4 separate regions of the Homo sapiens genome follow, and all the other regions are linked to region 1. Evidence: promoter capture Hi-C in 16 types of primary human blood cells and fetal thymus (Javierre and others, 2016). All regions are on one chromosome and are shown on one strand. Each heading gives the region's core, a stretch centred on a gene start or on the middle of the fragment in contact. The rest is flanking DNA. Distances are from core to core; before and after follow the strand shown.

Region 1 (7,178 bases), core at 1-2,500:
TATCATCTTGCTTTTCCAGTGGTGATGAAAAAGCAAAATTCACCCAAATACAATGACTACTGTCTACTTGAAACGCTCCAGGTAGTTAATTTTTGAATTATGATTCACCTTCCCTTTCCTGTTTTGATGAACCATGAACAGGAGACTGAACCTTCCCTATCAATAAAAAGCTCGCGTTTCCACCCTGCAAATTCGCGCTATGACAGTCTAATTGGCTGAGGCGCAGGTGGGATTTCCTGTCGCCATTTTAAGACACAACTCCTCTGCAAGCAAGTGCCCAGCCAGTGAAAGGGGGCTGTGTCTGAAACAAAGAGTAAGCGGGAAAAAAGGGAACCAGGCCCAGTTGCCCCTGCTCCCCTCCATGCCGCTCCCTCGTCCCCCGGACTTGGAGCGCCCCAGCTCCGTTAACCTGGACGCACCAGGTCCTTCGGTCGGGACCACGTGGGGTCTCCAGGCCCTCCAAGAGCTGGCCCCCGGCTCTTTGCGCCTAGGCCGGTGCTTTCTCGGTGCTCAGCAAATCCTTCTGGTTCACCTCACACCCAGTCCCCAAAGCAGAGCTCCACAGGGCAGATCTCAGGAAGGGCTGACCAGGTCTGCGGGTGCTGGATCCGGAAGAGGGGAGGTGCCTCCCGCTTCAGGTTAGGGACAAAGGGTTTTTAAAGGTGCCCGAGCTCCCCGCCGCCCCTGCCACTTCGGTCCCCTTCCCGCCAACCCGGGCCATCTGCAGGCTGTGCCCAGGGCCAGCCCTCCGCTCCAACGCTGCCCGTAGTCCCAGGCGCTGCCCGCGGCTCTCCGGGCTGCGCTCGGACCTGCCACTCCCGCGGCCATCCTCATGCTGCGCCCTTCCCACAATGCAACTCCCTCGCTCCTTCGGCCCCGGCGGGGCTCTGGCGTACCCAAAATGCAGGCCCCAGCGGAACGCACAGCCCTCCTGTCCTCCGCCGGTGCCCCTTTAGCCGCCCCACCCCCATCCCTAAGGGCTCTCATTCTCCAGCTGCAGCCGCAGCTGGGTTCCGAACACGCCGCCGGGCCCCGGGAGGGAGAGGGGCAGGTGCCAGGGCGGCGCGCAGCCTCTGCTCCCGGTGCCAGCTTCAGTGCGCCGGGCACACGCGCGCCCCGCAACCCCTCCCTCACCCTTTCCCCGTTGCTCAATCTCCGCCAGCCGCGGTCGCTGCATCGTCAGAGAGCTGCAAGAGGGAGGCAGCAAGGTGCGGCCGCCAGCAGTGACACCATGTGACCGGCACGGCTCACTGACACGCAGCTTTGGTTAAAGAGCGGGCGCACAGGAGGGGAGGAGACCGCGCGCGGGACGGGGAGGAATGGCCTGTCCGCGTTAAACCATCACAAGCCATGGTTGCGGAAGGGCCACGCGTCCCCCAGTAGGAGAATGACTCCGATTCGTGACCCTCAGCGCCGGTGCATGTCGATGTAAGTGCGAGGCCGGCGAGCAGAGTGTGAGTGGGGGTTGGTGGTGAGGGGAGATTCTGATGCAATCGGCCCGGAAAGGAGGAGAGCCAGGCGAGCGCGGACTGGGGCGGCCACGCCACTCCGCCAGAAGGTCGCCAGGAGCCTCCGCCCTTCACCTTCCTCCGAAATCCGCCAGGCCACGCCAAGCTCCCTGCCCAACCCTTACTGACGGGGGCCACATTTTCCCGGCCTCCGCAGCCAGACCTTGACACAAAGGACATCAAACTGCCGAGGGTAAAAACCCCGGAAGGGCGGACACCTCCACATCGCCTTTTGCCACCTTTCCCTTTATTTCCGGAGGTAAGGTGATTATCCGTTCCCGGGGAGGGCTGGGCGAGCGGCAAGGGGAGATTTAGATGTCGGAGGAGGAGGTAACGTAGAAATCATCTCTGCGGGCGTGAAAGCAGAGAGAGCTCGGCTGTGCCCGATGCTTTCGGATGTTGCTTTTAGGAGAGGAAAAGTCCAGGTCTCCTGTGCTTCCCGAACGCACGCGGCAGCGGGAGGAAGCGCCAGGGCCCCCGAGTTCACCTTTGCGTGGGCTGTGGCTTACTTTTTGGTTTGTTTTCCTGTGACTTTGGTGTGTTTTCCTGTGGCTGTGGCAGAGTGTGGTACCAGATCTGGTTCCATTTTTACGAGAGCCAGGAACCACGCACGTCTGGAGGGAGAGCGCAGCTGACCCGAGGGCGCGACCGTGTTCTGGGAGTGTTTGAATCCCCGGCCTTTGGTGAAAATTTCCTGTGTCCGCAAGGCCCAGAGGAGATCGTGTGATGTCCGGGGGGTGCTGCGTGCGGCCGGCTGGGTAGCGGCCGCGGACCACCACTAAACCGGGGCATGTTTGCCGTCCTTCCTGGTGCTCTGCCCCTCTGTAACGCGGGGAAGTAGGAGGGCGCGGGGAGAAATTACTAAAGGATGCTTGCAGTGACTCACTGTCCTTTCCTGCCCTGAAGAGGATTTTCTAAAATGCAGAGGGTGGCAGGGGACAGAGGTAGTGTTTTTTCGAGAGCCGGGATGTGCTGGAGCCAGCGAACAAAAGGCCACCTCTTGCGCGGTCTTGGGCGCAGACTGCTCTCGCTTCCAGTCCCACCTCCTCCCCAACCCCCGGCACCTAGTTCGCGTCCCTAAACGTTGCCGCAGAGGCCTTTAAACGCGTGGGTCGGTGCCGGGAGGAGAGCGCATCTTCGCCCTTGTGCGAGCCCCTTGCCCCCTAAATTATCCACCTCCTGGCGCATGGGGCTCCCCAGCACCCACTGGGACCCAGTAGGTTACCCGGCTGCCTGGGCACCGTTTGCCTGCCAAATCGCCCGCCTGAGGTTTGTGCTGAACTGTAGTTAGAGAAGGCACAAGTGCATATGGCAGCAAAAGGAATTTCGCGGTACCCGCGTCACGCCGCTCCCAGTGCCTTTCACAGGCTGCCTTGGGCTGGGGAAGGTGGTGCTACAATTCAGAGTCCTTTGTCTTGCTCTGCGGCGCGGACCCGGGGTTTGTACAAACCCTCGTTCTCTGTTAGAAACCTAACTGCCGCCAGGATCACGTACTTTCTCGGACGAATCCGCGGTGATGTGTGTAGCAAAAGTGAAAAAAGACGCCTCTGCTAGAAAACGGTATTTATTTGCGTTTGGAAGGGGTTTTGACCTCTCTGCAGTGGGTTTTTACATTTTTCAATATAAGGGGGAGGAGGAAAATAAATTTATGGTTTGCAGAATGCAGGGCCCAGCGAGGGTGTAATTTGTCACCTTGATAAAAGAAACTGTGCAGCAACTCGTGCTTTTTCTGACGTCAGAAGGACAACGGAAATAAAACCTGAGCTCGGTGCATGGCTGGCCTCGTTGTCAAATGTCTCATGCCAATTTGGTACTCCCGAAATCTTGCAAAACAGCCAATTCCGGGGTACTGACCTGGTGTGGACCCCCTGGATTTTGGTTCGACCCCAGCCTCAAAATGGCCTTTCTCTTGAGAGTCACTCGATTTCTCAGTATGTCGCTGTAAGCAATTGGAAACTGGAATAGTTTGGTTTGAGGTCTTAATCTTGAGGTTTATTCGCTTTTTAAAAAAATGTGGCCAATAAACATTTTCTACAGAGGGCTTACTGTGCGACTGGCAGCAACTAACAAGATTTGTTTCACCTTCTATGAAGCTTCCGTTCTCAGGGGGAAATAGACTATATAAATGTAGGCATATACATTTCAGGTATTCTTAGTGCAATGAAGAAATAAAACAGGATCATGTGATGGGGGAGGATGCTTGAAATAGAGTGACTCACCGGGAGGGGCGGTGTGAGGGTATAACATTTGTCCTCAGACCCGAATGATGAAAAGGGATCAGCTATTTCCATAATTGAGGGAAGAAGGCCAGCGGAAGGAACAGGAAGAAGGAACAGCAAGTACTTATTGCACTCTTCTTTGACTGTAATATAATTGAACAGATAGATGAATAGATTTTAAAGGTGTTTTGGAGCTTTAAACCTATATGTATGTTGTTTATGTATATTTTTTATGATGCTTCATGAATTAAGGCCATTTAATGAAAGGAGCACCATGTTTCTGATATCTGACTATTGCTACTCTTTTCTTTACTCTGGGTGATGCTTGTGGACAAAAACCGATTTTACTCATTGTTCCTCTAATGTCCAGCACATAGTACCTGCTTAATAAATACTTGTTGGATCGAGACCTTGAGACCTTGATCAGGCCATCTTGTTCATCTCTTTGTGATATTATTGGCCATCCCTTCCGTTCTATATCTCATCTGTTCCCCTTCTCCTAAGTTTGAAAATGAGAGTCTTTTTCTTCTCTGCTTCTCCTTCTCGTACTGCCCTTCCCACTTTGAGCAGTGACCAGGCCCTTGAAAATACCCCTCACACTTGTCCTCTTGTCTCCATTTCCACTGCCCAAGTTCAGGTCCCTGTCACCTTACCTAGACTTGGAGACATATGAAACAGATATAGAGGTGCCTTGAACAACCTAGGGGCAGTGGGAGTGGGCGGTGGAGAAAAATGCAAGCACAACATATGGTTAAGAGTGAAACAGCCAGTTACTGAGGTGGAACAGCTTTCCTGTTGGTCTCTCCTCCATATCAAGTTATGCTCCCCTAATTAAATCTCCATTCTTTCATGAGGTTTATATTTCTAAAATTCAGTTCACATTTTGTTAAAGGACCTTGCTTTTAAAAACCTCTGAGGGTTTCCATTGCACACAAATACAGTCTAAATTCCTTAGCCATACACTTAGGACCCTTCACAATCTGCCTTCTCATCTCTTTCCAATTTTTTCTCTTGATATTTTCTTTCTCACAGTTCACCCTATTCCCTCCCTATCACTTTTCTGCTTCAATATCTGTGTGGATTGGATTCCAGTCCAGAATGCCTACTGAAATCCTGTGTACTTGTGATGGCCTATCCCTGATGCCACTTTTCCACCTCTTGGGAGAAGTGTTCACTGATCACCTCACTGGCATTTTCATAAGTATTTGTTTATCCTTCACATTTTGGACTGTTGTTACTCCAGGTGATGGAAGGTGGTGAATAGGGGCTTAGGCTCTGAGTCAAATATAAATATCAGGCCTCAGCTTACTCACCCAGGAATCTTGGGCAAGGTGTTTGGCATCTCTAAGCCTCAGTTTTTTCTTTTGCTAAATGGGAATGATGATGCTGGTGGTAGTGTTGGTGGTACCCACTTTACTGAGTGATGGTAAAGATTTAATGAAGATAATGAATGTGAAGTATTTGGTATAGTGTTAGCATTCCATATGTATTGAATTAAACATATCTACCAGAGGAGGGAGAGAAAGTTGATCAGTAAAGTTCCCTTTACCTCTGAAATTCTGTGACTATGTAATCTTTTAAAAATACTTTTCTGAAAATATATCTTGATGGAAACTACCTGGATCTTTTTAGTCTCTGGGAGAATATACATCTATGAAAGGTGGTGAGGAGGTAGGAGAAGTATGTGCACAGAAGTACTTTGAAGAATGTGTGACAGACTTCGAAAAAGACATCTTGTATGCAAAGGCACACAGAGTAATATAATGGACTGTGGAGACTCAGAAGCCAGAGGTTGGAAGGGAGGATGCCAGATAAAAAGCTACAGATTGGGTACAATGTGTACTACTCAGATGACAAGTGCACTAAAGTCTCAGATTTCATCACTTTCAATTCATTTATATAACCACCAAAAATCACTGATACCCCAAAATCTATTGAAATAAAAAAATTTTAAGTAAAATTAAAAGATTAACTTCAATAACCTAAAAAAAGACACTGACCCTAGATTTAAAATAAGATTTTAAATTTAAAAATATTGTTGTACTTATTTCTGAAAATTGATCACATATTTGTTTTCTAGTGATAACCTTACTAATAACAGAGGAGTTCCCCTAACCATGTTACCTTCCCAATCACTGAATTCCTCTACTATTAGTAAGTAACTCTGTTTCAAGTGAGGTTACAATGTGTCTTTGGCAATAACTAGCTGGGTACCCTTGAGCAACTCATTTCACATTTTTATGCCTCATTTTCTCATCTGTCCAATGCTAATAATAGTATCAGTGCTGCGTACCTCAGAGTTGTGAAGATACAATGAGAGCAGAGCTGAGAAAGTCCTTGAACAAGTTTAAAAAAACTATTCAAGATGATAGTCATCTGGCATTAAGCATGCTGCTAATCTTCAGGGTCAGGTGATGGTTTTAGATTAGTGAGTCTCAGAGCAGACTTCACATTAGACTCATCTAGGGTGTTTTAAAAGCTGTCAGTGCCAAGACTTCAACTCCAGAGATTCAGATTTAGTTGGCCTGGGATGGAGCCCAAATATGGGAGCTTAGAAAATATCAGGGGTGATTTTGATATGCATTGGTTTAGATTTAAAGCAAGGAAAACAAAACAAACATCAGAAATTAAATGAGGACCTCCATATGTTGCTTGACAAAGTCTTAGTCTTAGTAGTGTGAAATTATGAGCTTGACTGACTTTTCCCCCTGATTTTACTAAACCAACCATTTGTTGACATCATGGAGCCACAGCCTCAGGTTACAGTTTATAACCTGAATTTTCCCAGGCATAGACGCCTGTCCAGTGATACAGCCAGAGCCACATGAAGATTTAATGTGTAGATCTCAGTTTCCATCTCTTAGGAATGGCGAAGGTTGGAAAAGAAAGCGACAATGGAAAGGAAAAAGAAAGGGATAGGCTATGGACCAAGGTATAGGAGAAAGAGGCTCTGAGCAGGAGACAGACAGGTCAGAGCACAGAGAAAACACTGTGTTTAATTTATTGAACCGGTTTTGTTTAGGTTGCAAACTGGTGGCTAGAGAGCCAAATTAAGCTTGTGGGCATATTTTATGTGACTTACGCTTTCTTTTAAAATTATTTGAAATTAGTTGCCAACTCTTAAATATCAGAATTTCACTTAGAATTTTGATTTCTGGCATTTATTGAAAAACATAAAAATAAAAAGACCAGGCTCATTCCTGCCACTAGTTGGAGGGAAATAGATGGGACATGTGTTCTCTAGTTCCTTATGCCCAGTCTGCTTTGCCCATTTATCTTACCTACCTGAGCACTAGCTTCTTTTGTTTTAACTTTTATTCTCAATCTGGGGATCTTAACATTGGCTGCACATAAGAATGCTCTCCTCTGGAGAGCGTTTAAAATAACCATGCTTGGATCCTGTCCTATACCAATTAAGTCAGAGACTGTTGTGTGTGTAGTGTCCCCTTAT
Region 2 (7,178 bases), core at 2,615-5,114, 1.5 Mb before region 1:
TAGGTTGTAGATAACACGGAACCTCAGAGGATATATGGTCCAAGAAGACCCGGGGGCGGTGAAAACCCTGTGGACTAATGCTCACGGGAGCCCGAGGTCACACTTTGACTTTGCTACCATGGGCTGTGTCTATGTACGTATATATGCTGCGTAATTATTACAGAGGCAGTCCATGTGCATTGTGGATACTCAGACAGGACAGACCAGCAAAAACTAAAAAATAAAAAACATCACAGACGCATCAGTCAGAGATCACTGCACATCTTTCCATTTCCGTATGTGTCTTTATGTGTTGTAATTTTTATGAAAATGAGATTACTCTGCATATACTGTTTTTTCAGTCAGTGATTTCCACCTTCCATTACAGTAAATTTTCATCTTAACGGAATTCCCAGTTGGCCAGAAATTGTCCTTACAGCTGGTTTGTCCAAATCAGTACCCAGGACCATGCCATCTGTCTGTTGAGTGACCTGAAGGCAGTGTAAGCACCCTAGCTGGATTTGTGATCTGGAAAAACCCCTTCAACCAAGTCTCAAGGGCAGCCTGGCTGCAAAAGGGAATCAGGTCACGTGGAGAATCTGCCCACTAGACTTCTGCTGTCTTCCAAAGTAATAGGCAAAAGGAGGGGGATTCTAGGGCACCACTGGGATGGGACCTCTAGGGTATTTACTGTCATTAATGTTAATGTGGCATCCCTGTGAGTGTCAGGATTCACAGCTTGTGGCTATTCACATCCGAGATGCCTCAGTTCGGTTTGCCTGGTTCTTACTGAGTGCAGACCAGGGTCTCCATTGTGGCTTCTGCCTTCCTCTGCCCCAGATCCAGGGATGCTGATAGCCGTGCGGCTGTGTTCCTAGTCCCCAGAAAGTGGCCCTGAAGGTAGGTGCTCCCTTTTGCACTTGTGGGTGCTTCCAGCGCTTCCACCTGCCCAAGGCCTGCCCGTGAGTGAGAGACAGAGATAGAGATAGAGAGAGAGAGAGAGAGAGAGAGAGAGAGAGAGAGAGAGAGACCTTTTCCTCCCAAGAGAATTTACCCCCGAGTACCCACTCTGAGGGTGACTTGCTCTGGTTATGCAACCCGCATTTTGTAGAGGGCTTGACAGTTTCCAGAGAGCTCACGCAGCGTTTGATCCTCTGTGGCAGCCCTGGGAGGTTTGCTTGTTTAGTTATACCCTGCTGGAGGCAGCTAACAGGAAACACTGTAAAGTGTTTAAATGGTACACTTTAAAATGGTAAAATGTACATTTAAAAAGGAAGGGAAATAGAAGATGAAAAAGGAATTGAGGATGGCAGGGGTGGAACACAGCACACTTTGTGGGAACAGGCTGGCATTGGGAGCATACCCTAGGGCCTCACTGTGTCTTGCATCCCCTTGTCCCCTTGGTGGTCTCACCTCAGCCACTACTAGGAGGCAGGCTGAGTAAGCAGTCCACGCCAGTGTACCGATGCTAAGCTTAGGTTCTGGAGTCCCAGCAGCTCCACATACCATCTGTGTGACCTCAGCAAGTTTCTGAACCTCTCTTAGCCTTAGTTTCCTCATTTGCAAAATGAGAATAATAACAGTATATAGGCCGGGCGCAGTGGTTCACGCCTGTAATCCCAGCACTTTGGGAGGCCAGGGTGGGTGGATTCAGTGAGTTCAGGAGTTTGAGACCAGCCTGGCCAACATAGTGAAACACCGTCTCTACCAAAATACAAAAATTAGCTGGGCATGGTGGCTTGCACCTGTAATCCCAGCTACTTGGGAGGCTGAGGCAGGAGAATCACTTGAATCCGGGAGGCAGAGGTTGCAGTCAGCTGAGATTGTGCCACTGCACTCCAGTCTGGGTGACAGAGTGAAATTCTGTCTCAAAAACAAAACAAAACAAACAAACAAAAAAACAGTATCTGCCTTACAGAGTTGTGAGGACTACTTGCAATAGTACAATTAAAATGTTTAGTGGGGGCCTGGTGTGGTGGCTCAGGCCTGTAATCCCAGTACTTTGGGAGGCAGAGGTGGGCGGATCACTTGAGGCTGGGAGTTCGAGACCAGACTAATCAACAGGGTGAAACCCCGTCTCTACTAAATATACAAAAATTAGCCAGGCATGTTGGCGCACGCCTGTAATCCCAGCTACTTAGGAGGCTGAGGCAGGAGAATCACTTGAACCCGGGAGGCAGAGGTTGAAGTGAGCCAAGATCGTGCCACTGTACTCCAGCCTGGGTGACAGAGTGGGACTCCATCTCAAAATAAATAAATAAATAAAAATCGCTTAGTGGGAGGATGTTGCCCTCCCCCCGCCAAAAATGCCTAGGATAATAGCCAGCACACAGTAAGCATTAACACATGATTGTTGATCATTATTAATATTATTAATTAATTAAAATAATATAACTATTGTTGATATTGTAACTTAAACATTTCCCTGGCAGTCTTGGGAATGGGCTGCGTGGCCTTGTGGGTGGCACAGGTGAGAAGAGTGAGGAAGGCACATCTCGCTCGGCCTGCAGCTGGGAGAGGCAGAACCAGTGGGCAAAGCAGGAGTAGGGTACACAGAGGGGCAGGGTCTGCATGAGGAGGGCCCAGGAGCTGGGGTGACAAGGAGAGCAAGGGAATGAGTGTGACACCTCAGAGGGGAGAAGGAGCCGCCCCTAGAGGCAGCCTGGGGCGGTGACTGTGCTTCCTGTTGGGGCAAACACTGGCCCTTGAGAAAGACTGGCTCACACTGGCTGCTAAAGGAGCAACTGGTCTAAGTGGGGCACCAGAGGGGTAAAGGCGAAGGGGAGAGATGAAGGCAGAAACTGGCCGACTTATCCCCATGTTACAGATAGGGCCTCAAATCTTGCCTGCTCAGGATGTTTTGCTTATGATAGGAAAGATGGTAGTTAGACATCATGGTGAACTTCCTATCTCAGGGACTGGAGATACTGGAGCAGAGGAGTGAGGATGAATGTGGAACTTATGTCTTTGAGGGCTTTTTGGAACTGAGAAATCTTAGGGTAGTGTGGACTAGGGGAGCCCACTGGCTCAGGAATTCCCTAAGTGGGCAGAGCAGTGCAGGGGCAGGCCAGGCTATAAGCTGAAGGCCATGGGTAATAGGAAGTAGATGCAGGCCCTCCAGGCCTGCCACCGCAGGAAGTAGCTATGCCCTCCCCTTCACAATGGACTTGCAGGGAAGGCTGAGTGGTGGCCCGAGAGGTCCCGGGAGTTGGACAGGGCTGGGAGGACCCCTGTTTTTCTCTGTCAGAGGACAGCAAGGGTCTCCAGAGAGTGCCAGACCCAGAAACCGACAGCCATACGCAACTCAGAATGGCCCAGCTCCCCGGCCTCAGGTTCTGCCAGGTCTTCATCCTTGAGGAGAGGCCACAGGGTGGAGCTGGGGATCTGGGGTGGGGGACAAAGAACCAGGGAGGATGCTTTCCCACCCCCAGGGAGCTCAAGCCGCTGCTGCCATGGTTACATCTGCTTCCTGTTTGATTCATCTCAAACAGCAGAAGTGGAGGTGGGGTGGGGGGGCGACACTGGCTCCCAGCTCAGGCCACTGCTGCGTGGGGCTGTTTACAACAGCCGCATGTGGGATTCCCAGAAAGAGACTCCAAACCGGACATCCTGCGGCTGCAAAATACCCAGGTGTCAAGAGCTAAAAATAGCTGCCTCAGGGCCCCAGCTGCCCTGAGGTGGCGGAGAAAGAGGCATGCTCACTGTTGCCACCCTTACATCCAGCCTCCTGTTTGGTGTGCAGGAGCTTCTCTGTCCTCTTGCCTCGGACTGATGGAGGCCTTCGTCTGGGTAGGCAGACATCCCGGCTGGCTCACCTGGCAGCTGAGCCTCTGCCCTGATGGGCAGCTGGCTCCTCTGCCTATACAGAGAAATGGTGCAGCTTGCTTTGGGACGCTAATGAGAGAGTCCTAGAGGGACTTGGGAGCTTCTAGAGAAGGGATATGGCAGGGCACTGAGAGCAGGGGAGTTGGAGCTGAGGGTCCTCTAAGACCCCAACCCATTGCCAGCCCCCTGTTTCCAGCACACAGTCCCAAATCATTGCTTGGTTTCTACAAAGTCAACAGTTGCTCCAAATGATTCTTTGAGATTGTCTTCATGGGCACCCAAAGATGACATAGCTTCTGCCCTCTCACCTGCGCAGGGCTGGGGATTGCTGCTGGCACGGGTCTCTGTGGGGCTGTGTGATTTTTTTTTTCCATCTTTCTGCATGCCCATCTAGGTCCTGCATGTGTCCTTTGCTGGCTGGCCTGTGGCGAATGGGAATGCTGGGGAGGAGGGGTGGAGTGTATTGGTTGAGAGCGTGGATTCTGAAGCCCAATTGCCTGGGCTCAAGTCCCAGCTCAACCTCTGCCACTTGTCTGTGACCTCAGACAAGTTATCTAATACTGCTGGGCCTCAGCGTACTCATTTATCTAATGGGGATAAAACAGTAAATACCTCATAGGTTTGTCATGTGGACTAGATAAGTTAGCAAATGTAGGGTACTTAGAACAACTCCTGGCACATAATAAGGTGTTCGCTTACAAAAGTTCAGGTGGAAGAGAAAGGGAAGAGAGCATAGTTGGGAGAGGCTGGGGATAAGAGATAGGGCAGGGGGCTGGGCACGGTGGCTCACGCCTGTAATCCTAACACTTTGGGAAGCCGAGGCAGGCAAATCACCTGAGGACAGGGGTTCGAGACCAGCCTGGCCAACATGGCAAAACACCGTCTCTACTAAAAATACAAAAATTAGCTGGGCTTGGTGGCTTATGCCTGTAGTCCCAGCTACTTGGGAGGCTGAGGGAGGAGAATCACTTGAATCCAGGAGGCAGAGTTTGCAGTTAGCTGAGATTGTGCCACTGCACTCCAGCCTGGGTGACAGAGCGAGACTCCATCTCAAAAAAAAAAAAGAGAGAGAGAGAGAGATGGGGCAGGGGCATGCATTCAGGAGAAAATGGTCTGTGGTAGAGGAGGGAGGAGAGTTGGGAGCAGACACTGAAACGCTAATGCCAGGAAGGAGGCTGCAGACAAGTACAGGAGGCAAACTAATACTCGCTACCACAAGGGAGCACCCACCATGTGCTGGGTGCATCACAGACAGCATTGCTAATCTCAGGTGACCTCTTTGAAGTAGGTATTCTTTTTGTTTGTTTTTGTTTTTGTTTTTGAGACGGAGTCTTGCTCTGTCGCCCAGGCTGGAGTGCAGTGGTGCAATCTCAGCTCACTGCAGCCTCCGCCTCCTGGGTTCAAGCGATTCTTGTGCCTCAGCCTCCCAAGTAGCTGGACTACATGCTCCCCGCCACCATGCCTGACTAATTTTTGTATTTTTGTTAGAGATGGGATTTCACCATGTCGGCCAAGCTGGTCTCGAACTCCTGACCTCAAGTAATCTGCCCGCCTTGGCCAGGGCAGAACTTCCCCAAAGTTCTGGGATTATAGGCGTGAGCCACCTCGCCCAGCCTGAAGTAGGTATTCTTATCTCCTGATTACAGGTGGGGCAGCTTAAGCAGGTTAAATTGTGTTTCTGGCTTGCTTTGCCAGTCACCGAGGGAGTCGGGGCTTAAACCCAGGCCCATCTGACCGCAAAGCCAATGTCCTGTGTGCTTTAGACCTTCAATTCCCTCACAGTTTGTGGCCTGCCAGACTTCATGTGGCAGGGGCTTCCAGCCCACTCTCAGCTCCCTGCTGGGTTCTGGATAAATCTGAGCAAGAAGCATTCAGTGCCAATCAATGAGCAGTATAGAGAATTTCTGGAAGGGAGACACAAGAAGCTGTTAGAAAGGGCGGCTTCCAGGGAAGTTCTAGGGAGTCTGGGATGAATGAGAAACTTATCCTAACAACTTTTGGGCTCTCTGAATTTTTTTTAGTATCTGCAAGTATTGTACTTGTTCAAATATGTTTAAGGCTGCAGGCTGTATTCTAAACTCCTTGAAAGTGAGAACCAGGTTTCACTCATATTTCCATCTTTTCAACCCCTAGATCAGTGACTTCCCAGGGAAGTAGTACCTGCATTTGGGGTTGACCTTTGGGTTTCCCCTGTACTGGTCTGGCCTGGCCTGGCTGGACCACTGGCTGGCTGGGTGGCTGTGACCTAGCCCCTTCTTTCTCTTTGCTCCTCTGTCAAATGAGAGTGTTGGTCTGAACGATCTCTAAAGCCTGGAAGAGGAGCAGATCCTCTGTGCTCAGCCCCCACTCTGTGTCAGGGAGGCCTGGCAACCACAGTGTTCTTTCTCCTGTTTATTTGTTCTTGGATCTTCCTGAAGCCATTTCACCACCAGCCTTCATCTTCTCTGCCAGCCCCATGGAGACTCAAGCTTTTTCCAGCCTATGTCAGGGAAGGAGAACCAGAGACAGCAACCTCGGGTGTGAAGGGAGTCAGCTCTGAACCCAGGACTATGGCCTTCTGCCACTGCCTGCTTTCCTCTTGCTGCTGGGGCCTAGGTCTTCTTGCTGCTGCTTCCTTTTCCGCTAATCAAGAGTCCAGGGAGGTGGGAACAGCCTCAACAAAGACTTTGAAGATGAGCGGGGAGGATCGCTTGAGCCCAGGAGCCCAGCCTGGGCAACAGGGGAAGACTTCGTCTCTACAAAAAAAAAAACAACAAAACAAAACAAAAAAAATTTAGCCAGGCATCGTGGTGCATACTGTAGTCCCAGCTACTCTGGAGGCTGAGGCAGGAGAATTGCCTGAGCCCAGGAGGTCAACGCTGCAGTGAGCCATGTTCACATCACTGCACTCCAGCCTGGGCATCAGAACAAGACCGTACCTCAAAAAAAAAAAAAAATTAAGAAAAGACACTGGAGGCATCGGGAGGGGGGCGTTCTAGGTGGCAGTGCTCCTGGGGAAGCCTTTTGTCCCACTGAAGACATGAAGCTCCTGGGAGAGCAGGTGGTCGGCAAGGCTCAGGTTTTCATCCACCTTTTGCAGATCTAGGAGGCAAAGTCATACCTGCTGGGGAGGGAGGACCAAGACTGGGGCCTGAGGCAATAAGGTAGGAGCAGTAGGGAGGTCAGTTTGTTCCAGGTGCTTAGAATTGTGTTTGTGTTTACTCTGGAGGTTGCTGAGGGCTGGGGTGCACCTATTGGAACAGGGGCTCCATAGGTTTCTGGGTAAAATCAGGTGTTCTGGTTTAAGAAGGTGACTTGGTAGGCCCACATGCCCCAGTGCCAAGTAAACTGTTCTTAAGTCTGACTGCAGTTGCCTCCAAAGAAGATAGAAAAGG
Region 3 (7,178 bases), core at 2,306-4,805, 1.1 Mb before region 1:
TTCAGTCTTTCTCCTCCCCTCACCCTTCCCCTCAGTTGGTGTTACAAAAGTTCAAGTAACCGGGGAAGAGAGAATTTTCCTGAGAAAGGAAAAAGGTGGCAAAGGTAGGTAGGGAGGTGGTGGGGCTGGTTCTTGGAAAATTCTCTTTGACTGTAAAAGGGGAAACAAAAGCAGCACACAATCCAGTTAGTACCAGTGCACATACTAATACTTTTTGACCTGTCACACTTTTATTGTGGTTGTTTCTGATGAGCTGCCCCTGGAATTTTCTTGAAAGCAAGAAAAATTCCTATGTTCCTAGGGAATTCCACCATTACGTTAAACCAGAGAGAGCTTAACAAAATATATTTGTTGGATAAATTGCCTTTTCATCAAAAGTACTAAATTACCTGTGTATTTATTCAATATTTAATAATTCAACAGCAGTGGAGTAAATGTTTACTGAGCCAGTACAGTATATTTGTGGATGTGTGCACATGCGTGTGTGTGTGCGTGACTTGAACACTCATAAGTAGACTCCTACATTGTGGAAGCAATGATATTTGGGAGTAGAAGAAGAATCCTGTCTGATTAAACCATCTCTTCATTGTTTAAGTGTTGGCACCCTTTACTGGTAAGTACTTGTTTTTCAATAACAAGGATGGGATGTTGGAATGAAGCTCTGGCAATCCCTGGTAATGAAACTGAAGAGCAAACGTGGCTTCCCCCTCAGATATTTTTGGCAATTAATTCACTTATATCCAACCTCTAACAGATGTAGCACTTGGGGGGAAAGAATAACTTCCTTCGTGCCTAGATTCCTTATCTTCTCATAATTAAATCATAAACAAAATAAAAGATGAAATGAAATATACATCATTGCCTTAAGAAGAAATAGAAATGCAAATGAAACGGCACAATCTGTGGATTGACAGACTCACCAGGAGTTCGCATCTGGGACTTGGCTGGCTTCCAGAGTATTTGCTTGTTCATTTCCTTACCCTCTCCTCCCTCCTCTTTCAGTCTCATTGCTTTGCCCTGACTTGAGTCCCTCTGCTCTTTCTTATCTTGCCCTGGATGGCTATTTCTCTTTCTTTTGTACGATGAGTATTTTCACATTTCCTTAGGACAGTACTGCAAAATAAGGTCAGGTTATAAAAAGAAATTATATATTCTGCTGGCAAAATAACAAATTGACAAGTCAACGAGGGCCTAGGCAAATTGATTTTTGAAAAAAACGATATGGACAATGTAGTACCTTTCTTTTAGGAAACACTACACTGCATGTTCTTCACTTTGGGGACTATTTAGAGACCCAAAGACATATGATAGTTTGAAATAGGATAGGTTTTACTCACAGCTGGGGACCAAGTGCCACAGGCTCTAAAATAAGTTTTCTACTTCCTCTACCTCAGTGACTAAAATTTCTACTTGAGGACAATATTAGTAATGCTGTATACTTCATTGGTGTTGCTGATTCTATTATTATAAATATAGTTTTAAACTACACATTTGTATGTCTTTGTTCGGCTCACTACTGCTCTTTTTTTTTGAGATGGGGTCTTGCTCTGTTGCCCAGGCTGGAGTGCAGTGGTGTGATCTTGGCTCACTGCAACCTCCGCCTCCTGGTTCAAGCAATTCTCCTGTCTCAGCCTCCCGAGTAACTGGGATTACAGGCACGTGCCACCACACTTGATACATTTTTGTATTTTTAGTAGAGATGGGGTTTTGCCATATTGGCCGGTCTGGTTTCGAACTCCTGACCTCAGGTGATCCGACCACCTCTTCCTCCCAAAGTGCTGGGATTACAGGCTTGAGCCACCGCACCCAGCCTCCACTACTGCTTTGAAGTGCCCTCCTTTTGTGCCACACACTGAACTAAAGCACGATGACACTATCTTTCCTGGTTCTCATAAAACCCTGGGAGGAAGGCATTGCTATGCCTGTTTAACAGATGAGGCGTCTGAGTATTGGAGAAAACTCATCTAACTCTTCTTATGTGTAGCAGAGCTAGGAGTTCTGATTGGACCCTCCTGGCATTCTAGCCCAGTTGAGGTCTGACTATTTTAGTGATTTGTTGGGGGATCCTCCTAAGCATAGGTGTATGCTTGCCAAAATAGCCCTCTGTGAGCCTTGGCTTATTCATCCGACTAGCTTTATTAGAGAACCGGATCTCAAGGAGGTGGGTGGGAGGTAGGTGAGAACTCTGGGAGATGGAAAGGGAGAAGGAACAGAAGCAGGCTCTGCAGGGAGGGCCAAATCCGTGCCCTGGCTGGTCACAATGCACCCAGCCCCTCCTAGCATGTAGATGGGAGTGGAAGGAGAGGAAACTGATCCAGCTTCGCTGGACACTGGCCTGGGATGAACAATTAGCCTTCTTCCAAACACGGTGACAGAGACAGACACTGCCAGGGTTCCTCGCCAGACCTCAGAAAACCCACATCCCTTGAACGTCACTGGCTTCAGCCCTCGAGTCTAGTTAGAACAAGGCGATGTTGTCATGGCTGACTTCTGGGCCCCCTGTGCTTTTGCTGGGAAGCACCCACTGCCAGTGTGTGGGTATGTGAGGTGGGGAGTGGCGGCCACAGGGGCAACACATTGGCAAGGCTCACAGCAGGGAGTTGGTTATTGGCTCAGTGCTGGCCTGGTCTGCAGTTGCCTCTCTTTCAGAGACCCCTAAATGTGAGAGGGGATGACCCAGCATCCCTGCTTCTCATCCTTCTTCCTCCTGCAACGCTCCCATGCCCATGAATTCTGATGTTTTTCCTTGTCAGAATTTGCTTGTGGGATCTTCGGACTAAAAAAAACCTTTGAGCTTTATTTTACCCAAAGGTTTTCTCTCCATCCCTTCCTTCTTTCTTTCCTTCCCCACTTCCTTCCTTCCTTCTTTCCTTCCTTCCTATTCTTTCCTTCTTGCTCTCTCTTTCCCATGTTAAATAAATTAACTGGGAGGCCATTAGTCTGAGATAGCCTCAGTACCTCAGGTTCTTACTTAAGAAAACCTTAGCCCAAACTTAATGTAAAACTAAAAGGAAACTTAAGCTTAACGAATCAGAAAATCCACCAACTAACCTCTAACTAGGACTTTCCACTACACCTCATAAAAGTTTCCCCTCTTGCCCCCTAGGTGAAATGTCAAACTGCTTCCTGTCTGGTGCTGACTGAATTACGAATCACTGAATGCTCAAATAAACTCATTAAAGTTTTATTGTACCTAAGTGTGTCTTTTAACATCTGCATATTTTATTATAAGATCTGTCTCCTGGCTGTGTGGTGGCTCACGCCTGTAATCCCAGCACTTTGGGACACCAAGGCAGGAGGATCACTTGAGCTCAGGAGTTTGAGACCAGCCTGGCCAACATGGTGAAACCCTGTTCTACAAAAAAAAAAGTTAGCCGGGCAAGGTGGCTTACGCCTGTAGTCCTAGCTACTTGGGAGGCTGAGGCAGGAGGATTGCTTCAGCCCAGGAGGAGGAAGCTGCAGTGAGCAGAGATCACACCACTGCACTCCAACCTGGGTGACAGAGTCAGACCCTGTCTCAAAAAATAAAAAATCTATATCTATATCTATCTATCTATCTATCTATCTATCTATCTATCTATCTATCTATCTGTCATCTATCATCTGTCTATCTCCCGTGTAAGCCATATGCAAGTATCCTTAAAAAGAAATTTTCTCACAATGACCGTCACCTTAATATAATCTGATATGTAGTAAAATTTGAACTCCCAAAAAAAGGATTTCCCACAATGACTGTATTTCTAGAGGTTTGATTTTGTGGTGTCTGCTACAATATATAGTAATGCATAATTTTATGTCCCAGAGCACATGTGGATTTGCCTGTGACCTATCTAAGGTTGGTAGGACTGCACCCTCTTTACAAGAATAAGCTCTCTCCACCATCAAGTTCCTCATGTTAAATAAGGTGTGACTCGTAGTTAACTGTTTTTCCCATTCACATATTTATATGGTTTCTCCGTGGTAAGAATTCTCTAATGTTCAATAAGGTCAGGGTTCTGCCCAAAGGGTTTTCCATAGTGATTACATTTAAATGGTCACCCCCAGTTTATATTTTTTAAAGGTGAGAACTGAGCTCTTATAAAAGCTTTCCCACCCTGGTCGGGCACAGTGTAATCCCAGCATTTGGAGAGGCTGAGGCGGGCAGATCACTTGAGGTCAAAAGTTCAAGACCAGCCTGGCCAACGTGGCGAAACTCTGTCACTACTAAAAATATAAAAATTAGTTGGGCATGGTGGCACATGCCTGTAGTCCTAGCTGCTTGAGGAGGCTGAGGCACGAGAATCGCTTGAACCCAGGAAGCGGAGGTTGCAGTGAGCAGAGATGGTGCCACTGTGCTCCAGACTGGGCAACAGAGTGAGACTCCATCCCCCTCTCCAAAAAATAAATAAATAAATAAAGCTTTCCCACCCTCATAACTCAAGTAGGTATGTATTTTCATATGCATTTTATGGTGTGTTTTTTTTTTTTTCTGGAATGACTTTCCACACTCATTACACACATACGATTTATTCACCTTCCCAAATTTTGATGCTTTTAGTTGAGGATCTACATTTAAAATTCTTATAGAGTGCTCCTTTCAGAATGCTGAGATTTTTCTCCAACTTTTTGTTTTATATACTCTCCCTCTGGTGAGGATTTTCCTTGCCTGATTTCTACTCAGGTGGAAGCAATGCCCAAGGAAGGGGTCTTTCCTTCTCTTCCCCTTCTGCTGTCTTTCCAAGTACCCTCTATCCTCAAGGGACTCTCTGAAGGTCTTACACCCTTCTGCTGCTGCATAGGCTCACATTCTGAAGCCAATGGCTCCTTGCTGGTCTTGGTGTAGTTATCTGACACAGTGGGTAGAAAATGCTAATAACATCACAGCTTGGTTGGGTCAGTATGAGAAACTCTTCCTAGGTCTTCAGGAAAGCAAGACCCAGAGTTCTCGCAATTTAGAAATCACATTGGGGCAGTTGGAAATGCCAGTGAGACTCAGGTCTTGTGATTCTCCAGCATCTTGTCTCTGGAAAGTTCCTTCTAGGCAGGATTCAAACACAACGTCTCCTCCCAATCCTCAAACTTTAAGTCATCCCCAAACAATTTATCTCCAGTGCAGTGGCCAATTCTTGGATGAGAACCAGGTATCGCCTGGCTGAGAGGACGGCAGTCATTACTGGGAACCGAGGACTTTCTCAGAAGCCTGAGGAGGATCAGGTGCAGCATTCGTCCGAGTCCTGAAATAACTGGCTTCCTGACTACAAGGTGTAGGTGCTGGGATCGGAGGGAGCATGGATGCCCTGGGTATTTGCATTACAAGGACTCAAGCCTTAGCTGTGAGGATCAAGTTCTAACCAGGGCACTGCAGGCTAGATCCAGCAGGGGATGTTGAATTTCTTCTGGTAGCAGCACTGCTAAAATTACCTATTCCGCCTGTGTGTGCATGCCTGCTCCAAGCCACAGGTGCAAAGCTGGAGTCCTCAACTAATCAGGAATGTGAGTCCTTGACTTAGATTTTACTCTTGCTAAGATCTTGGAGATGTCATGTAATCTCATGGGTCCTCTGGGGCTAGACAACTTCTGCCTGTCTCATGGGATTGCTGGAGTGGTAACAAAAGAGGAAAAATCTGTGGAGCTGAATTTTGCAGGGGTGTATGCAGGCAAAGTGGATGCTTTTTGTAACCCTGGCCATATTCTATTTGAACCATTTAGCACTATTATCTGATGCACATTCTAGCTGTTGAGCTTTACAGGAAAATGTAGCCAGGCATGGCTGGAGATGGGAATAGATGGGCTGAAAATAGTGTACATTGTAGCTTTTGGGTAAACTTAATTGCGATAATTTCATGATGTATTTTGGTAACTTCTTAGAACAACACTAAAATGAAAAACAAAAAGTCTCTGTACAGTTGTCTCTCTCATTGGTTCCAGGTGGACATATGGCAGCCAGGAAAGAGATTGATGGAAATGGTCTCCGATGTCTGGGCAGAGCTTTTCTAGTCTTCTCTGAGAAGAACAACATTCTTGGTAGACCACAGGCCTGGCTGTAAAACCCTGTGCATGGAAAGGATGAAGAACCAGATGAGAGGATGTGTCAATAACACCCTGTATTCATTTTCTGTTGCTGCTGTAACAAATTACCACAAACTTTGTGGCTTAAAACTACACAAATTTATTCTCTTACAGTTCTAGAAGTCAGAAGTCCTCTGTCTGCTTCACTGGGCTAAAGTCAAGGGGTGATCAAGACTGGTGGTTCCTTCTAGAGGCCTGAGGGCATAATCCATTACTTTGACTCTTCCAATTGCTGGTGGCAGCCTGTATTCCTTAGCTTGTGGTCTCCTTCTTCATCTTCAAAGAGCACCACTCCAATCTCTACTTCCATGGTTACATCTTCTTTGACTCTGACCCTTCTGGGTCCCTCTTAAAAGGACCTGGTGATGACATTGGGTCCATCTGGATAATCCAAGATAACCTCCCCATCTCGAGGTCTTTACTTTAATCATATATATAAAGACCCATTTGACATATAAGGCAACATTCATAGGTTCCAGGGATTAGGACTTAGACATTTTTGTATTTGGGAAGACTACCACAAAACACACTCTGAATTTTTTTAATAGAATATAAGGATTTAATTGAATTTTACAGAATTATTTCTAAAAACAACATACCCTTTAATCACTAGCAGAAGAGCAAGAGAAAGAGCTGACTATAGATTAAGAGCAAAATGGCATCTTCAAAACATACAGAATGATTTGAGATCAATTAACTGCATTTCAGTTTCTTTTCTTTTCGTTTCTTTTCTTCTTTTTTTTTTTTTTTTTGAGACAGAGTTTCACTGTTGTTGCCCAGGCTAGAATGCAGTGGCACAATCTTGGCTCACCGCAACCTCTGCACCCCAGTTCAAGCGATTCTCCTGCTTCATCCTAACTGAGTAGCTGGGATTACAGGCATGTGCCACCACACCTGGCTAATTTTGTATTTTTAGTAGAGACAGGGTTTCTCCATGTTGGTCAGGCTGGTCTCAAACTCCTGACCTCAGGAGATCTGCCCACTTTGGCCTCCCAAAATGCTGGGATTACCGGCGTGAGCCACTGTGCCCAGCCTGCATTTCAGTTTCTTAATGACCAATTTATTTAACTTTAAATTTTTACTAAATAATATTCAACTTGTTTCATTTAATGATTCAAATGTCATTTTCC
Region 4 (7,178 bases), core at 2,782-5,281, 1.1 Mb before region 1:
ATCCACAGTCTCTTCATGCAGAAATAGCAGTTAACACTTTAGTGTAGATCCTCCCAGAACTTTTATTAAAATGAAAAATACTCGGCCAGGCACAGTGGCTCATGCCTGTAATCCCAGCACTTTGGGAGGCCGAGGCAGGCGGATCACAAGGTCAGGAGATCGAGCCCATCCTGGCTAACACGGTGAAACCCTGTCTCCACTAAAAATACAAAAAAATTAGCCGGGCGTGGTGGCGGTCGCCTGTAGTCCCAGCTACTCGGGAGGCTGAGGCAGGAGAATGGAGTGAACCCAGGAGATGGAGCTTGCAGTGAGCCGAGATCATGCCACCGCACAACAGCCTGGGCGACAGAGCGATACTCCATCTCAAAACAAAAAAAAAAAGAAAAATACTCTTGCTATTGTAATTATAATTTTGCAAAAATCAGTTGTTATTGATGCTGTACTGTTCTATGCTGACAAGATGGAGAAAGGAAAGAGACTGAGGGCAGTAGGTTGACCAGGTAGGAGAAGGGGCTAAAGAGGAACAGGGGTACATTTACTCAGAAGCCACCAGACTGGTAGCTAGTTGGGTAATCAGTTAAAGCAGTTAGTCAGTTAGAGCAAAGAAACATTAAAAATGGAAAACATTTTTAATATTTTACTAAAGTAAAACATATAAATATTCTTTCATTTGACAGTATTTTGAAGGGATAAGGCCTCTTTTAAGACATGTGACATCTAATAGGAGTCATGTGTAGTCATTTAAAAAGTCAGTGGTTTTCAGTCCCAATAGCTTTAAAGTAGAGCCAGAACTGAAGGACAGTTGGGGAACAATCTGAGTTCAGAATTATTCTAGATTTAACAAAATTTTCCAATTATTTTACACTTGCCTCACCTGCATGAAACTCTAAGATTGTTTTGTATTTGCTTTGTTTTCTAAGCAACTTGTCTTTACTGTTTATGGAAAGCATTCAGTTTGGATTTTGGACAACAGCAATTCTTTCCCTCACTCATATTTCATTGCTTTACATAATTACAAAAACAAGTGCAACTGGCAAAACCAGCTCGTGGACAAACATATCTGCCTCTTGGTAAACCTAAACTGTGGAAGCAGAACTACCCCAGGGACCTTAAAACCTGACTCCCGAGGAAGCAGTCACTTTGCTTTAGGCAGTGCGTGTAACGGAGAGGAAGGCAAGCATGGGAAAAGCCAGTTTTGAGGATTTCTCATACATTGCAAAAACAACTGTGTCCATCAGGACCCTTTTGCTGCAAGTAACAGAAACCCTCACAAAAGCTGGGTTTTAAAAAAAGGGGATTTATTCAGAGATAAAGCAGTCTTCATGGTTAGTCAGGCATGGTGCCTCATGCCTTTGTAATCCCAGTGCTTTGGGAGGAAGAGGAAGGTGCATCACTTGAGGCCAAGAGTTCTAGACCAGCCTTGGCAACATAGCAAGACCCTGTCTCTACAAAAAAAATTTAAAAATTAGCCCAGTGTGGTGGCATGAACCTATAGTCCTAGCTACTTGGGAAGCTGAGGAGGAAAGATCATTTGAGCCCAGAAGTGGGAGGCTGCAGTGAGATATAATCTCACCACTGCACTCCAGCCTAGGTGACAGAGCAAGACCCTGTCTCTTAAAAAAAAAAAAAAAGAAAGAAAAAAGAAAAGAAAGAAAAAGAAAAGAAAAAAAGAAAGGCTAGTTGAATCAGTAGTTTAGCAATGTTACTGGACCCCAGATTATTTCCATTGCTCCACTCTTCATCCGCAGCATCAGCTTCCTCTTATGACTGGGGCCAACAGCTGGACATCTCGTTTCCTTTTCCTCACTGGTAGGAGAGAGAACAGGTGTCCATTTGGAATTATGTCCTTCCCTTCTGTCTGACCAGTTCAAGTTGGGTCTCATACCTGCCCCTGGACAAATTAATCATCATCATCAAAGGAATGGCATCTGGTGATTGGTTTAAAATATCAGCATCCACTTCTGGAGCTGGGAATGAGTTCGGCTTCCCATTCCTGTGAATCTCATGATTCGTGTGAACACCTGAACAAAACCGGATCCTGTGAAGGAAGAAGTGGTGAGGAAAGCATGCTCAGAGAGATGGCTACTTCACATTACTGCCTCTTGCCAGGTCTGTTTCCTCAGATGCCAGGATTGTACATTCCCAAGCCATCTTGGTCAACACGGTATCATCCACCTACTTAACTAGTCTTCCTTTAATTCAGGGTCACAAATATTGATGGGTTCTCCCAGGGCCTGGAGCCCCGCCTGCACTTCCCGGGGTTATTCCCTGGCCCATCCTACAAGGAAGCATTTTATAGCTGCTCTCCCTTCAAAGCTCCAACACCTGCTCCCCCTCCCTCATAGTCTAGCTGATGTCTTCCTCTCAAACTTCACAAAGAAGCTTCAAGCTGCAGACTAGACCTTCCCTTCATCAACTGTACCCTGCAGCTGTCTCTGCCCACGTGCTCTTTCCTAGGCCTCAGTGGGGGAGTTGGCTGCTCTCTCAGGCCAACCTTACCATCTGCTAGCTCCTGGACCCCAGCCCCCCTCACCTTCTCAGGACCTTTTCAGGCTGGCTCTGCATCCAGCCCCTCTCTCTCTAACTCCAAAGGCATACAAAGGTGCCGGAATCTTGCATCTTAAAAACCAAGTCAACCAAAGCCAAAAAAAACTCTTCCCTGACCTTCTCCCTCCTGTTACAATCTTGTTTTTTTCCATACAACATGTCTTTAAAGTGCTGTTTAGAGGCACTGTCTCCACTTTCTCAGTTCTCGTTCTCTCAATTCACTGTCATTGAGCTGTTGAACCCATCACTCCCCAAAACGGTTCTAATCAATGTGATTAATGACTTATTTTGCCAAATCTGGTCACTTGTTGCTTTTCTGACCCTATCCTTTAGCACTTTCTTCAACCTCTCACTTTCTCCTCCAGCTTCTATAGCACACCCTCTCCTAGGTGGATTTCCTTCCCCAATCACTTGCTGTTCCTCCATCTCCTCTCTTTGAGGACGGCCAAGATTGATTTGGGACCTTATTCTTTTCCCCTTCCCTCCCCTCCACTTCTCTTTCTTTTCCTCTCCCCATCCTCTTTCAATATTTACGTGGCCCAGCTTATCTGTTCAACTCCCTGTTTAAAGTCATTCCTTGCTGATGATTGGCAGGTTTACAGTTCCACTCCTGATCTGTCCACTAAGCTTCAGGCTTGTAGAGGCAGCGGGTTGCCTCTATACTCTGCTTAAAAGTCTAATAGCATCTCCACCTCATATGCCCTAAACAGAACTTTGGGTTCCTTCCACCTCTGTCCCTCAAGCTCACTTCTCCTCTAGTCTCTTTATCAACTTAGGAAATGACACCACCATCTACTACACTGTGGCTCCAGTCTCACACAGGAATCACTCTTGATTCCTCTTGTCCCGTGCTACTCCCTTCATATACTCCATCAGTGAGTGCTGTCATCTTCCCCAAGACAGCCTCAATTCATCCTCTTTTCTTTATCTCTAGCTCTAAGCTGCAATCATCTCACGGAAATACTGTGAGAACCTGGTACAATTTCTATTCTGCACAGAGACCAGAGTAATCCACAAATATTAAGTCAGATCATCTCACTCCCTTTTGTAAAAACCCTTTTGTGGCTTCCTGTTGTGGGCAGAACTAAATCAAGACAGCTTATCATGGCCTAAGAGGACTTACCGGAGCTGGTCATGACCCCTTCTGACCTCATTTGGTGAAATTGGGCCCTGGGCACACTGACCCTCTGCCTGCGAAAACGCAGGCTCATGCCCACCCAGTGTCTTTCAAGTTTCTCTGCTCCTGATTTTTACAAGATTTTATCTTTCTCATTATTAAGTTCTCAGCCTAAAGGTCACGTCCTCAGAGGCCTTTCCTGACCACCCAGTCTAAATTAGCTCCTTGCCCTCATCACTCCCTACTCTTAATTTTGTTCTACTTTTGTTCTAGAACTTAATGCTATTTTGATTATCTTCCCATCCATTTCTAGACTGTAACCACCGGGGAGGCAGAATACTTTATCTTGTTTACTATTGTTAAATGAAATTTATGGGAGACTATTGTTTTGGACTGGGCTCCTGAACTAGGCCCAGCAGACCAGAATGGAGTCATTCATGTTAAATGCCACATAATCAAACTGAACTCTGAAATAGGCCAGCTTTCTAATAAAAAAAAAAATAGAGAGCGAATGAGATTCACAGCAACTAATCAAAAGGGGAGCAGCTTACCTTAAGATGGTATGACCAGGAAGTCCCTTCTGCTTTAACACTATCAGGGTACTAACCTTGAAACAAAGCATCTGCTTTTTGTTCTCTGTTTCTGTTTTCTTCAGCCCTTTTCTGCCTATAAAGCCAGGCTCGTCTTCTCAGCTCATCGGAAAACCCATTTTATTTTATAGGATGAGATGTTGCCTGATTCTAGAATTATTAATAAAAGCCAATTAGATCTTTATACTAAATTTGTTGTAATTTTGTTTTTTGACACTATGGTGGTCTCAGCACCTAGAACAATAATATAAGCAAATAGCAATAATAATTTAATGAATAATTCTGTTTGCCTGACTTACATCCCACTTTCAGAAAGGAATAACCTCCTGGGAGTAGTCAGCAGAGGTCCCAGGACAAGTAGCCATGGGAGTTGCCTAATCTTCTTTCACTCACCGCTTAAATCATTTAGCAAATATTAATTGTCAGGTTATGGGCTAAATACTGGAGGAACCCAGATAAAGAAATCACAGTTTTTGTCATTTCAAGAACTCACAGACTGGTGGGTGGTGGCAGACTAAGAGGGTAGAAAATTACAGTGTTGCCGTTTGATAAATACAATAGGAGAGGGAAGCACAGGCTCCTATTGCAGCTCACAGAAGGAGCACCTAACTCACATGAAGTCAAGGAAAGCTTCCTGGAAGAAGTGATACTTCAAGCAAGTCTTAAGGGTAAGTAGAAGCAGTGGGTGAAGAAGGGGTGGGAAGTGGGAAGGAACGCTCTAGGGAAGGGAGAAACAGAGGCACAGAGGGTGGGCAGCTGCAGGGGAAGTGGAAGGTGACCAGGAGGTAGCATGGAAACAATGTGGACAGCTCAGTAGAGACCATATCATGAACAGCCTTGTTACAACAACAAAAATAAGAACAGTGTCTAACGTTTACTGAGGACTTACCATGTAACAGGCACTGAGTTAAGCATATCACCTGTGTTTTCTCAGTTAATCCCTGCTACAACCCCAAGTAGGCTTTATTACTATGCACATTTTATTGAAGGGGAATGTGAAGATGTTACTGGAAAGGCATCTCGGTCCAGAACCCAAGAGAGAGTTGTTGGATCTCATGCAAGGAAGAATTCCAGGCGTGTCCACAGAGCAAAGTGAAAGCAAGTTTATTAGGAAAGTAAAGGAGTAAAAGAATGGCTACTCCATAGGCAGAGCAACCCTGAGGGATGCTGGTTGCCTGTTTTTATGGTTATTTCTTGATTATATGCTAAACAAAGGGTGGATTATTCATGAGTTTTCCAGGAAAGAAGTAGGCAGTTCTAGGAACAGAGGGTTGCTCCCTTTTTAGATGCTATAGGGTAACTTCCTGACTTTGCCATGGCATTTGTAAACTGTCATGGCGCTGGTGGCAGTGTAGCAGTGAGGATGACCACAGGTCACTCTCATTGTCATCTTGGTTTGGGTGGGTTTTGTCTGGCTTCTTTACTGCAACCTGTTTTATCAGCAAGGTCTTTACGACCTTGTGTATCTTGTGCCGACCTCCTATCTCTTCCTGTGGCTTAGAATGCCTTAACCTCTTGGTAATGCAGCCCAGCAGGTCTCAGCCTTATTTTACCCAGTCCCTATTCAAGATGGAGTCCTCTGGTTCAAACGCCTCTGGCAGAGCCACTTTACTGAGGACACATAGTAAGGGGTGGAGTCAGCAGTGAAGCATATTACAAGTGCTTTGAAACTCAAGCCCTGAGTCTCTTGTGTGATTTCTTAATTTCACTCTCTGATCCTTAGTTTCCTCGTTGGTAGAATGGGACTGGCCCTGGTGCCCCTGCTACATGGAGTCTGTGGGATTCAATGAGAAGATTCCTGGCCTGGCGTGGCTCATGCCTATAATCCCAGCACTTTGGGAGGCCAAGGTGGGTGGATCACTTGAGGTCAGGAGTTTGAGAGCAGCCTGGCCAACATGGTGAAATGCTGTCTCTACTAAAATACAAAAATTAGCTGGGCGTGGTGGTGCACACCTGTAATCCCAACTACTCGGGAGGCTGAGGTAATAGAATCACTTGAACCCAGGAGGCTGAGGTTGCAGTGAGCCGAGATTATGCCACCGTGCTCCAGCCTGGGCAACAAAGCAAGACTCTGCCAGAAAAAAAAAAGAGAAAAGATGCGTGTAAAAGGGCTGACTGCTGAATCCAACTTAGTCACTACTCAGTAAATGTCAGCTACTACTACTATTATTACTGAATTTCTTTTTGGAATGTTGATAGAGAACCATTACCACTTAAACCTGGGGAATTTTTCCTTGCTGTGGAAACAGGGCTTGACTTTCTAAAGATTGTGCTCCCCTCTCATGATGATTGGTGACTTCGTTTACTCATTTATAACATGTTCTGAACATCCACAACTTTGGTCCGTTTTTTTTGTATATGCAAATTTTTTGAGATATAGATTGAATGGTAGAAATGGAGAATTAATATTTGCATGAAAGGATTAATAGTTTAAAATCTTGTTTTTAACCATAAAGCAACACATTCATAAGCTGTAAAACTTACAAATGGGTATGAAATGTAAACGCCTACCTCCTTACTTACAAATCCATATTTAATGTAATTATAGCTGAAGATAATCATAGCTATTATTTCTTTTTTCTCAGATATTTGTATGTATATACATACATGTATATAAATATATGTATAAACGTGATTCTAGGAATTTTCACTTATAATGATATTGTATTCTACCTTTTTTTCCTACTTAAAACAGTTTAGTTTGGATACTTTTCATATCAAGACATAGAAATGCATTGGTTCTTTGGAACAGCTATGTAATATCCCATTTTACAGAGCCACTATAGTTTATTTAATCCTCTCTTGATGGGCATTTAAATTTTTTTTTTTTTTTTTACTATTACAAATAATAGTATCATGCTACTCCTATACAGTATATATTTGCCGCCTGGTGAAAGCGTTTCCTTGGGAAAAATTCCTGAAAG

The links. The method cuts DNA at HindIII sites, captures the fragments that hold promoters and counts their contacts. A CHiCAGO score of 5 or more calls a contact.
Region 2: a fragment that was not itself captured here is called in contact with the fragment with the promoter of SLC38A1 in region 1 in 1 of 17 cell types (non-activated CD4 T cells); the score reaches 6.8 in non-activated CD4 T cells.
Region 3: a contact is called between a fragment that was not itself captured here and the fragment with the promoter of SLC38A1 in region 1, in 2 of 17 cell types (activated CD4 T cells and total CD8 T cells). The highest score is 7.1, in activated CD4 T cells.
Region 4: a fragment that was not itself captured here is called in contact with the fragment with the promoter of SLC38A1 in region 1 in 1 of 17 cell types (non-activated CD4 T cells); the score reaches 6.6 in non-activated CD4 T cells.

Annotation. Positions count from the first base shown.
Region 1 is chr12:46,263,115-46,270,292 of GRCh38, reverse strand. SLC38A1 (solute carrier family 38 member 1) reads left to right here and starts at 1,250. Exons shown (of 17, transcript NM_030674.4): 1 at 1,250-1,767. LOC105378248 (a long non-coding RNA gene) reads right to left here and starts at 1,222. Exons shown (of 2, transcript XR_001749101.1): 1 at 1,135-1,222. RefSeq lists silencers at 701-800, 881-1,060 and enhancers at 1,471-1,570, 1,621-1,670, 810-1,792, 1,791-1,850, 2,776-3,759. The HindIII fragment of the contact is 4,151 bases long and covers 1-3,603 here.
Region 2 is chr12:47,804,636-47,811,813 of GRCh38, reverse strand. All of the region lies in intron 1 of HDAC7 (histone deacetylase 7), which reads left to right. It overlaps LOC124902926 (a long non-coding RNA gene), which reads right to left. Exons shown (of 2, transcript XR_007063290.1): 2 at 6,181-6,539. Among named protein-coding and RNA genes, the nearest start is that of HDAC7, 12 kb to the left of the region's middle. RefSeq lists an enhancer at 2,813-2,882. The HindIII fragment of the contact is 4,820 bases long and covers 1,455-6,274 here.
Region 3 is chr12:47,387,036-47,394,213 of GRCh38, reverse strand. No RefSeq gene overlaps it. Among named protein-coding and RNA genes, the nearest start is that of LINC02156, 24 kb to the left of the region's middle. The HindIII fragment of the contact is 1,063 bases long and covers 3,024-4,086 here.
Region 4 is chr12:47,364,518-47,371,695 of GRCh38, reverse strand. LINC02416 (long intergenic non-protein coding RNA 2416) reads right to left here. Exons shown (of 4, transcript NR_183615.1): 2 at 4,272-4,404; 3 at 1,886-2,038; 4 at 1-1,806. Among named protein-coding and RNA genes, the nearest start is that of MIR4494, 3.8 kb to the right of the region's middle. The HindIII fragment of the contact is 1,710 bases long and covers 3,177-4,886 here.